Linked DNA regions of Homo sapiens: region 2 is linked to region 1. Evidence: promoter capture Hi-C in 16 types of primary human blood cells and fetal thymus (Javierre and others, 2016). All regions are on one chromosome and are shown on one strand. The core of a region is centred on a gene start or on the middle of the fragment in contact, and the rest is flanking DNA. Distances in the headings are between cores, read along the strand shown. Region 1 holds the start of NOPCHAP1 (NOP protein chaperone 1). Region 2 overlaps CHST11 (carbohydrate sulfotransferase 11).

Region 1 (4,245 bases), core at 693-3,192:
TTGCTCTGTCAGCTGGTCCTTTTATGGGCGCAGGATATGGGAATGGCAGGCTAAAAAGGCAACATTTGGGCGAAAAATGGGGTCAGCTATTGTCACTTAGGGCCACAGTTCCATGCTTTAGAGTGGGGTTTAGCTGGGAGCCCAATAATTCTGTATCACCAGTGCCATTACATACATTTTACTCCTTTTCCTCTTTTATTCCTTATAACATCCCCATGAAGTATTATTATCCTGATTCTGCAGAGAAGGACAGACGCTCAGGGAGTGATCTGCCCAAAGTCACAGCTACTAAATGAATAATATGACACTGGATTTAATCCACTCCAGGCTGATTCTGGAGCCTCTGCACTGTCAGAAATAAGCAGAAAAGATTGGTCCAAGGTTTCTGCTGCTTCTGCTTTGAATCCTATATAAGAGGGGTCTGGGCATACTGCAGGTGGTCAATAAAGACTGTTAAAAGAACAAACAGGAAAGGAAGCAATAGAGTGAAAAGGCAACCTACAGAATGGGAGAAAATATTTGTAAATCATATATCCGATAAAGGGTTAATATCCAGAATATATAAATAACTCCTACAACTCAACAACAAAAACACAAATAACCAGATTAAAAAATGGGTAAAGGAGTTGAATAGTCATTTCTCCAAAGAAGATATATAAATGGCCAACAAGCCCATGAAAAGGTGTTCAGCATCACTAAATCATTAGAGAAATGCAAACCAAAACTTCAAGATATCACTTCACACTCACTGGGATGCTCACTGTCAAAAAGAAAGAAGCAACCAAACAGAAAAAGGAAATATTGACAAGGATGTGGAGAAATTGGAACTCTTGTGCACTGTGGGAATGTAAAATGGTGCAGCCACTATGAAAAACTATACGGAGGCTTCACAAAAACCTAAAAAGTAGAATTACCCTATTATCCAGTAATCCCATGTCTGGGTATGTATCCCAAAGCATTGAAAAGCAGGGTCTCTAAGAGATATTTGTACCACCATGTTCATTGCAGCAGCGTTCACAATGACCACGAGGTGGAAGCAACCAGCACGCCTGTTGAGAGATCAATGGTAAGAAAATGTGGTATATACATACAATGGCATATTATTCAGGCTTAAAAAAGAAGAGAATCCTGTTATGTGCTACAACATGTCTAAACCTTGAGGGTATTATTTTAAGTGAAATTAGTAACAAAAAGGCAAGTACTGTATGATTCCACCTACATAATGTATCTGAAGTAGTCAAGCTCATAGTAACAGAAAGTAGAACGATGGTAGCTGGGCATGATGGCTCACGCCTGTAATCCCAGCACTTTGGGAGGCCAAGGTGGGTGGATCTCCCGAGGTCAGGAAATCAAGATCAGCCCGGCCAACATGGTGAAAACCCGTCTCTATACAAAAATACAAAAATTAGCCGGGCGTGGTAGTGTGCACCTGTAATCTTAGCTACTTGGGAGGCTGAGGCACCAGCCTGGGCGACAGAGCAAGGCTGTTTCAAAAAGAAAGAAACAAAGAAGAAAGTAGAATGGTGGTTACCAAGGGACTGGAGTAGGGGTAAATGGGTATAAGGTTTCAGTTTTGCAAGATGAAAATGATCTAGAGGTCTGCCACCACTGAATTGTACAACTAAAAATGGTTAAGATGGTAGATTTTGTTACGTGTTTTTTCACCAATTAAAAAAAAATTTAATAAAAAAGGATAAAGAGGAGGGAAGCCTAATGTTATGCTCTTTATGCCCGAATTTGGCGAAATCGAGCCTTGCCCGCTGTTTTTTCCTATGACAGTGTCTGAACCTTTCTTTTTCCCAGGAGTAGGAATGGCCCCTGCTCCCGCGCAGCCTCCAGGCTGCACCACGCTCGCCCCGCCTCTCTCTCCGCTCCTTACTCCGCCCACCGCAGTTTCCTCCAATCGCGGCCCTCTCCCCGCCCCCTTACCCGAGCCTTTTTCCTGCATCCGGGCCTGAGAGTGCAGGCTTGAGGGAAGCATGGAGGTCCATGGCAAGCCCAAGGCTAGCCCGAGTTGTTCGTCGCCCACCCGGGATTCCTCAGGAGTCCCAGTGTCCAAGGAGCTGCTGACGGCGGGAAGCGACGGCCGCGGAGGTGACGGACGGGTGACGGCGGCATGGGCCGCACACGTGCGGCAGAGGAGGCGCGGCCGGTGCAGTTTGGGAGCCGGCCGGTGGCTCCCTGCCCGGGCTCCGTACCCTCGAGGGGAGCCCCGGGGACTGCTGCGGGGCTCCGGCGTGCCCTGCCCGCGGCAGGGGTGGGGGCTTTGGGGCGGGCACCCGGCTGCGGGCCCGGAATGGTTTCCCCAGCTAGTGGTTCTTATATTCTGCAAGGTAGTGAGCGCCCACCCTGCCAGGCGCCGCTGCCAGGCATCTGCCCTGCCCTGGAAGCTGGGAAGCTCTCGAGTTCTTTTGGGGAAGGGAGGGCTTTTGGTTTGGCTGCCTGGGTCGGAGCAGTTGGCTGATAGGGGGAAGCGGAGTAATATTATGCTAACAGTCCCTACCTCTTTCACACCCACACAGACCACCCCTTAGTGCTGCTGTCTTGTAGAGGGAGACATGCATCCAGGAAATCCACACAGCATTTCAGACACTATAGGTAGAATTTAAAAGCACGAGTTCGAATCCCAGCTCCACTAGTAATTAACTGGTGGGACTTAGAGTTATTTTCATTCCCTAAGCCTCAGTTTTTGCATTTGGAAAATGGTGATAGTAGTAATGCCTGTAGAATTTTTGTGAGGAGGAGAATGCCTAAAAAGGCTTGGGCATGTTGTCAGTAAATACTAGCTTGAAGAAAAGGTTTTGTGAGAACCCAGAGATTCCGAAGGAAGTATAATAATGATAACCAAAGCTTATGTAGTCCTTACTATGTATGCCCCAGAAACTAACTCATCTAATCCTCACAACAACCCTTTGCAGAAAATCTGTTATCTCTGTTTTATAGTTGAGGAACCTGAGACATGATTTATCATACAGGTAATTTACCTTCTGGAGATCATGTGGCTAGAAAGTAGCAAAACTGGGACTTGAATTCAAGTAGTCTGGCTCCAGACTCTGTGCTCTGATCACGAATCCAGTAGGCCTTAAGTAGTAGGCATTCAATGGATGTTTGTTGCGGCTCTGCTTTGCAGGTGAACAGGATTTGTTTTTTAACCAGAGAGTTAAGGGATTTTCCGGGTATTAGAAATAGGGTGTGCAAAGCCTTGAGTTTTGTACGTTCCCCTCTTGGAACTCTGATGGGATAGAGAGTTGGGATGATTTGAGTAGTGAGAAATGAGGCTGGAAAGGTAGAGTGGGTGACAAAATCCCCAAAAGGCTGCTTTCCTTGGGTTGAACGTCTTCAGGGAAGGGGAAATACCAGGCAAGCATGTTTTACTAATGAAGAAACAAATGCTTGAAGATCAGGTAAGTTGCCCAGTGTTACACAACTAGTAACCATTTCTGGCTTCACTTAACCATTGTTATGCTCTGTACTGTTTCCTCCGTTCTGTCATTGCAGACCCACGTTTGTCTGCTAATGAATTTCTGATCCAGAAAAGTGCAGATTGGTGTGCATTTATTACCTGCCATTGGTGATAGAGGTGAATGAGACAGATGTAAGAAAGGAGAGGTGGCTGGCTGTACATAAAGAATTAAAATGTTGTAATGGAGCTTGGAGTTCTCCTTTAAAAAAAAAATTTTGGGGGAGTGTGGACAGTCAAGTCTTAAGACTGGTCATGTGAGAGGCTTACTGATGGGCCTTTGTTTTTTTATGCTGTAGTAAATTAAGGGTGTTTGTGTGTCTGTATTTTCAGGTATATGGGACAGGTTGCTCATCAACTCCCAACCTAAGTCCAGAAAGACCTCCACTCTTCAAACAGTTCGGATAGAGAGGAGTCCCTGTAAGTACCTCTTCCCCTCTCTCACCCTCTCTAATGCTGAGTTTTGTCTGATTAAGCTGTGGGACGGTCTCTGCCTTCATTGTCAGGTATCAAACCACAGATAGTCCAGTGGAACAAGTCCTACTTGGGATTTACATGATAAAGTCAGTACACAGAATGGAACTTCTTACATTATTTCTCTACTTTAAGAGGGTAACTTTTTCGTGAAAAATTGCTTGTGGGTTGAATTTTGGGAAGTCAAAAACAATTGTTAATCTCCATGGCAAATTTATTTAGAGGTTACTGAGCCTCAAACTTAATATATATGGATGGAAAACCACAACCACATCCCATTGAATTGGACACAATTATTTAAATGATAAATA
Region 2 (4,245 bases), core at 1-2,500, 520 kb before region 1:
TTGCTGTGAGCTAAGATGGCACCACTGCACTCCAGCCTGGGCGACAGAGTGAAACTGTGTCTCAAAAAAAAAAAAAAAAAAGAGACAAAAAGGAGACAGCTGGCAAGGCTGGCTGTCCCTCTCTCTGATTCTAATCTGGGGCCCATTATCTTTTCTAATTCATAGAATTGATTAATTTGCAAATTTGAGTAATTGGTCATCAGTTGCACAAGGGTTTAGCAGAAGTGGGCCTTGTCAGTAGGATAGTTACATTTAGAAGTTTTTGATACTCTGAGTTAATAGTCTTCCTTAAGAATATTTTATAGGGCAAGGACCAGGTTTTAGACTCCATTTTAATCCCGATGTTTTTTGCACGGTGTCTGACAACAGTGGGTTCTCAATAGAATGTTTGCTGGATGAATGCATGAAGTGGTTAAACTCCAGAAGTAGACCCACTTCTCTGGTTTTCAGGAAGGTCACTTCTAGCCTTGCCAAGAATGCCTGGTCAATAACTCTGGCTCTGTCTGGTGGGGAAACTTCCTGCCTTCCTGAACTGTGACACGGACCCAGTTTAAACTAATCAGGCGCCAGACAGGAGCTTTCACCGTGACCTAAATTTGCAGCCCGTGAGGTGTAGGCAGCTGAGGCACTGCTCTGTGTCCTGGATTCTGGAGAAGGTTGGTCTTGTTTAGCCACTTAGATGGATTCTAAGGAAATCCATCCATAGAACAGACACCTTCTATGGCCGTGAACTATTCCTAAAGCTAGGGAGAATGGAACCATATACCTGTGATTTCTACACAGGTTTGAGTTCACCAATGAATGCTTCCTATGCAAGTTCATCAGCTTGCATTAAAATGTCTTGCATACCTGCCCCAGATGGCTGGGTTTTGATGGAGCTGTGTCATGCAGTGCAAAGCTGAGAGGCCCCCCAGGCTGCATTGGCACAGAGTGTGTAAAGGCAGCTCTTCAGAACCTTCCTTTTGTGTTACTCCATAGGATTGTGGTTTTTGTTTGAAATCTACTGTTCATAGAAAGAAGCCTTCAGAGGAGAAAGCCTTTTCTCTCCTGTCTGCTTCCTCTCTATTATTTTTATTTTTGCAAAATGTTTATTTTCACTGTCACCTGGGATTTCTTTGCCTCGGTTGAATGTATTGAAAGATTATATCCTTTATTTAAAGATGTCTCATTTTACCCCCTTGCACTTTCACTTGATCAGGTTGAACCTAAAATGCATTTTGTATTATAATTTTAAACGAATTGTAAACATAACATGTGCTCATTTTAGAAAATTTAGGAGGTGGCCAGGTGCGATGGCTCACACCTGTAATCCCAGCACTTTGGGAGTCCAAGGCAGGTGGATCACCTGAGGTTGGGAGTTTGAGACCAACCTGACCAACATGGTGAATCCCCGTCTCTACTAAAAATACAAAAAAAATTAGCCGGGCGTGGTGGTGCACGCCTGTAATCCCAGCTACTTGGGAGGCTGAGGCAGCAGAATCACTTGAACCAGGGAGGCGGAGGTTGCAGTGAGCTGAGATTGTGCCATTGCATTCCATCCTGGGCAACAAGAGTTAAACACCATCTCAAAAAAAAAAAAAAAAAAGAAAAAGAAAAGAAAAAAAGAAAATTTAGGAGGTATAGAAGAAAAACAATCATTATTCCACCACCAAGAGGCAACTGGTACTTTAAAAATATATTATAGAATATATTTATATATATTTATATATTCTGTATTTTTCTCAACTATGCAAAATGCATATACATAGTTGAGATAACATCATGCATTTTGTATCCTGTTTGATAATAAGTATTTTAGACAAATACATCATTGTCACAACTAGTTATTAAAGTTAAAGACAAAGTTTAACCATAACTGTTTAAATGTATAGACTTGCATGTGTCTCCACCTCCCACCCTACCCCTTTGCAGGATGTCAGTCTGGTATTATTTTTTTTGCTGTGGTTGCACAAATTTAATGTTACGTTACAGAATCTTTTTGCTTATACATGGAATAGTTTGGAGTCTTACCAATTTGTAGGGGCTGTTCTTATGTTATACACCTGAAACTTCCATTGAAAAGGTGTCAAGAGGGTCTCAAATATGAGACTGTTATGAATTCTGAAAACAGCATTGAATCACTGAAGGATCTCATGTACCCCATAAATATATACAACTACTATGTACCTATAAAAATTAACAAGTAAAAAAATAACTGAAGGAGAAGACATTTTTAGCATGGGGTCTCTCCTTGATCATTTAAATGTTTGCACCTCGATGGAGCATTTTCATTGCTGTGCTCAGATGAGACAGATGTAGGTGATCTCCTTTGATTGTTACAGTCCTCATTTTCATTGCCTTCCAAAATAAAAAGGGGTGATCAGGCACCACAGAAAGGGTGGTTTGGGGGTTTCCGTGGGGTGAGGGGTGAGGGAATCCATCCTTCAGCAGAGGTATCTGCTGTCAGTATTTGTCTGGTTGAAAGATCATTTTGTTCATAGCTTTATCAGCACAGTCATTTCAAAACAGGAAGTCAAAGGCTCATAAGCAAAGGCACCACCCTTTCCCTTCTTAAACCCACCAAAAGGACCTCTCTTTAGTCTGGAGGTCAAGTGAAAAAGGCTCTCATGAAAGTCATTGCCAGCAGGCCTCTTCTAAGTTCAGACTCTGAGGAAAACCAGAAGTCATTCTGCTGATTCATTTTTTTTTCTTTTTAGTTTTTCTTTTGAATTTTTGGGACACCACCTTTATAACAAATAAAAGGGGAGGCAGTTCTTCCTATGAACAATCTGATCTGTCAGTTAAAATTTCCTAGAACTTGTAATTTGATGCATCTTAGATCCAATGTGAGTGATTGAAACTTACAAGCAGACTTGTTCTCCTCCTCCCCAGCCCCCTGTCTGTCTGTCTCTCTCTCTTTTCCTTTCTTCTACTCTGTGCCAGATACTGTTCTTGGCACTGGAGATGTAACACATACATACATCTCTGCCTTCATGGAACTTAGATTCTAGTGGGGCGGACAGACTTTAAGCAAATGCAGAAGTGACATATATGGTATATCAGATGGTGTTAAGAGAAAAACAAAACAGAGAAGATGGTTGAGGGGTGTGAGAGGCAGGGGTTGCAATATAATATAGAGGTAATTAGGGAATGTCATTGATAAGATGACACTGAGAGCAGACACCTGCAGGAAATGAAGGAGCCGGCCATGTTCCAGGCAGAGAGCAACACAAGTCAAATCTGGTCCCTGAGGCAAGAACACGCATGGCAAGGTGGTCAGAGTGCCCAGAGCAGAGGGACGGAGGCAGCCAACAACCACAGTGGGGAGAGACAAGTCGGAGAGAGACAATTGTTTTGAGCCTTGGGTTTAACTGTAGATGGGAGGGAAGCGCTGCAGAAGCTTGAGCAGAGGTCTCTTGGGGCAGGGAGGCAAGGAATAAGGGTGGAAGCAATGTAGCAAGATTGAAAATGAAGTCTCCTACTTGCACTTTTTTTTTTTTTTTTTTGAGGTGGAGTCTTGCTCTGTCACCTAGGCTGGAGTGCAGTGGTGCAATCTGGGCTCACTGCAACCTCTGCCTCCTGGGCCCAAGCAATTCTCCTGCCTCAGCCTCCTGAGTAGCTGGGATTACAGGCATGCACCACCACACCTGGCTAATTTTTGCATTTTTAATAGATACTGGGTTTTGCCATGTTGGCCAAGCTGGTCTTGAACTCCTGACCTTAAGTGATCCACCCTCCTCGGCCTCCCAAAGTGCTGGTAGAGGTGTGAGTCACTGTGCCCAGCTCTACTTGCACATTTGTGCTCATCTTTGGGCAGCCGGTAGTGTACTTTGGTTAAGTGGTCACCATATAAGTCCCATCTCCCCTCTACCACCTGCTCCCCCTTGACCCCCAACTAGACCATCTCCTTTTTCAATTTTTTAAAATTTATCTTTATTTTTAAAAACAGGGCCTTGCTCTATTGCCCAGGTTGGAGTGTAGTGGTGAGATCACGGCTCACTGCATCCTCGAACTCCTGGGCTCAAGGGATCCTCCTACATCATCAGCCTCCCAAGCAGCTGGGACTTACAGGTGTGCCACACACCCAGTCCCATTTCCAATTTTTAAAGCAGTAATGAAGAGATCTGAAAAAGAGATTTGAGAAAAATTTTGACTGAGCTTGTAGTGGGAAATTCGTAATATCTTCAGGGTGCAATCGGTGGCATTTGTTAATAAAAATATCCAGAAAAAGTGCCAGACTTAAATCAGCACTCAATAAAAATAAAA

Evidence for each region. The method cuts DNA at HindIII sites, captures the fragments that hold promoters and counts their contacts. A CHiCAGO score of 5 or more calls a contact.
Region 2: a contact is called between a fragment that was not itself captured here and the fragment with the promoter of NOPCHAP1 in region 1, in 1 of 17 cell types (naive CD8 T cells). The highest score is 5.3, in naive CD8 T cells.

Annotation. Positions count from the first base shown.
Region 1 is chr12:104,984,374-104,988,618 of GRCh38, forward strand. It overlaps NOPCHAP1 (NOP protein chaperone 1), which reads left to right and starts at 1,943. Exons shown (of 4, transcript NM_152318.3): 1 at 1,943-2,094; 2 at 3,794-3,880. The coding sequence starts at 1,980. LOC105369952 (a long non-coding RNA gene) reads right to left here and starts at 1,997. Exons shown (of 2, transcript XR_007063436.1): 1 at 1,930-1,997; 2 at 1-50. RefSeq lists enhancers at 1,597-2,109, 2,110-2,620 and a silencer at 2,173-2,422. The HindIII fragment of the contact is 4,173 bases long and covers 1-2,848 here.
Region 2 is chr12:104,460,601-104,464,845 of GRCh38, forward strand. The region is part of intron 1 of CHST11 (carbohydrate sulfotransferase 11); the gene reads left to right. Among named protein-coding and RNA genes, the nearest start is that of CHST11, 5.8 kb to the left of the region's middle. RefSeq lists an enhancer at 2,336-2,385. The HindIII fragment of the contact is 4,254 bases long and covers 1-3,377 here.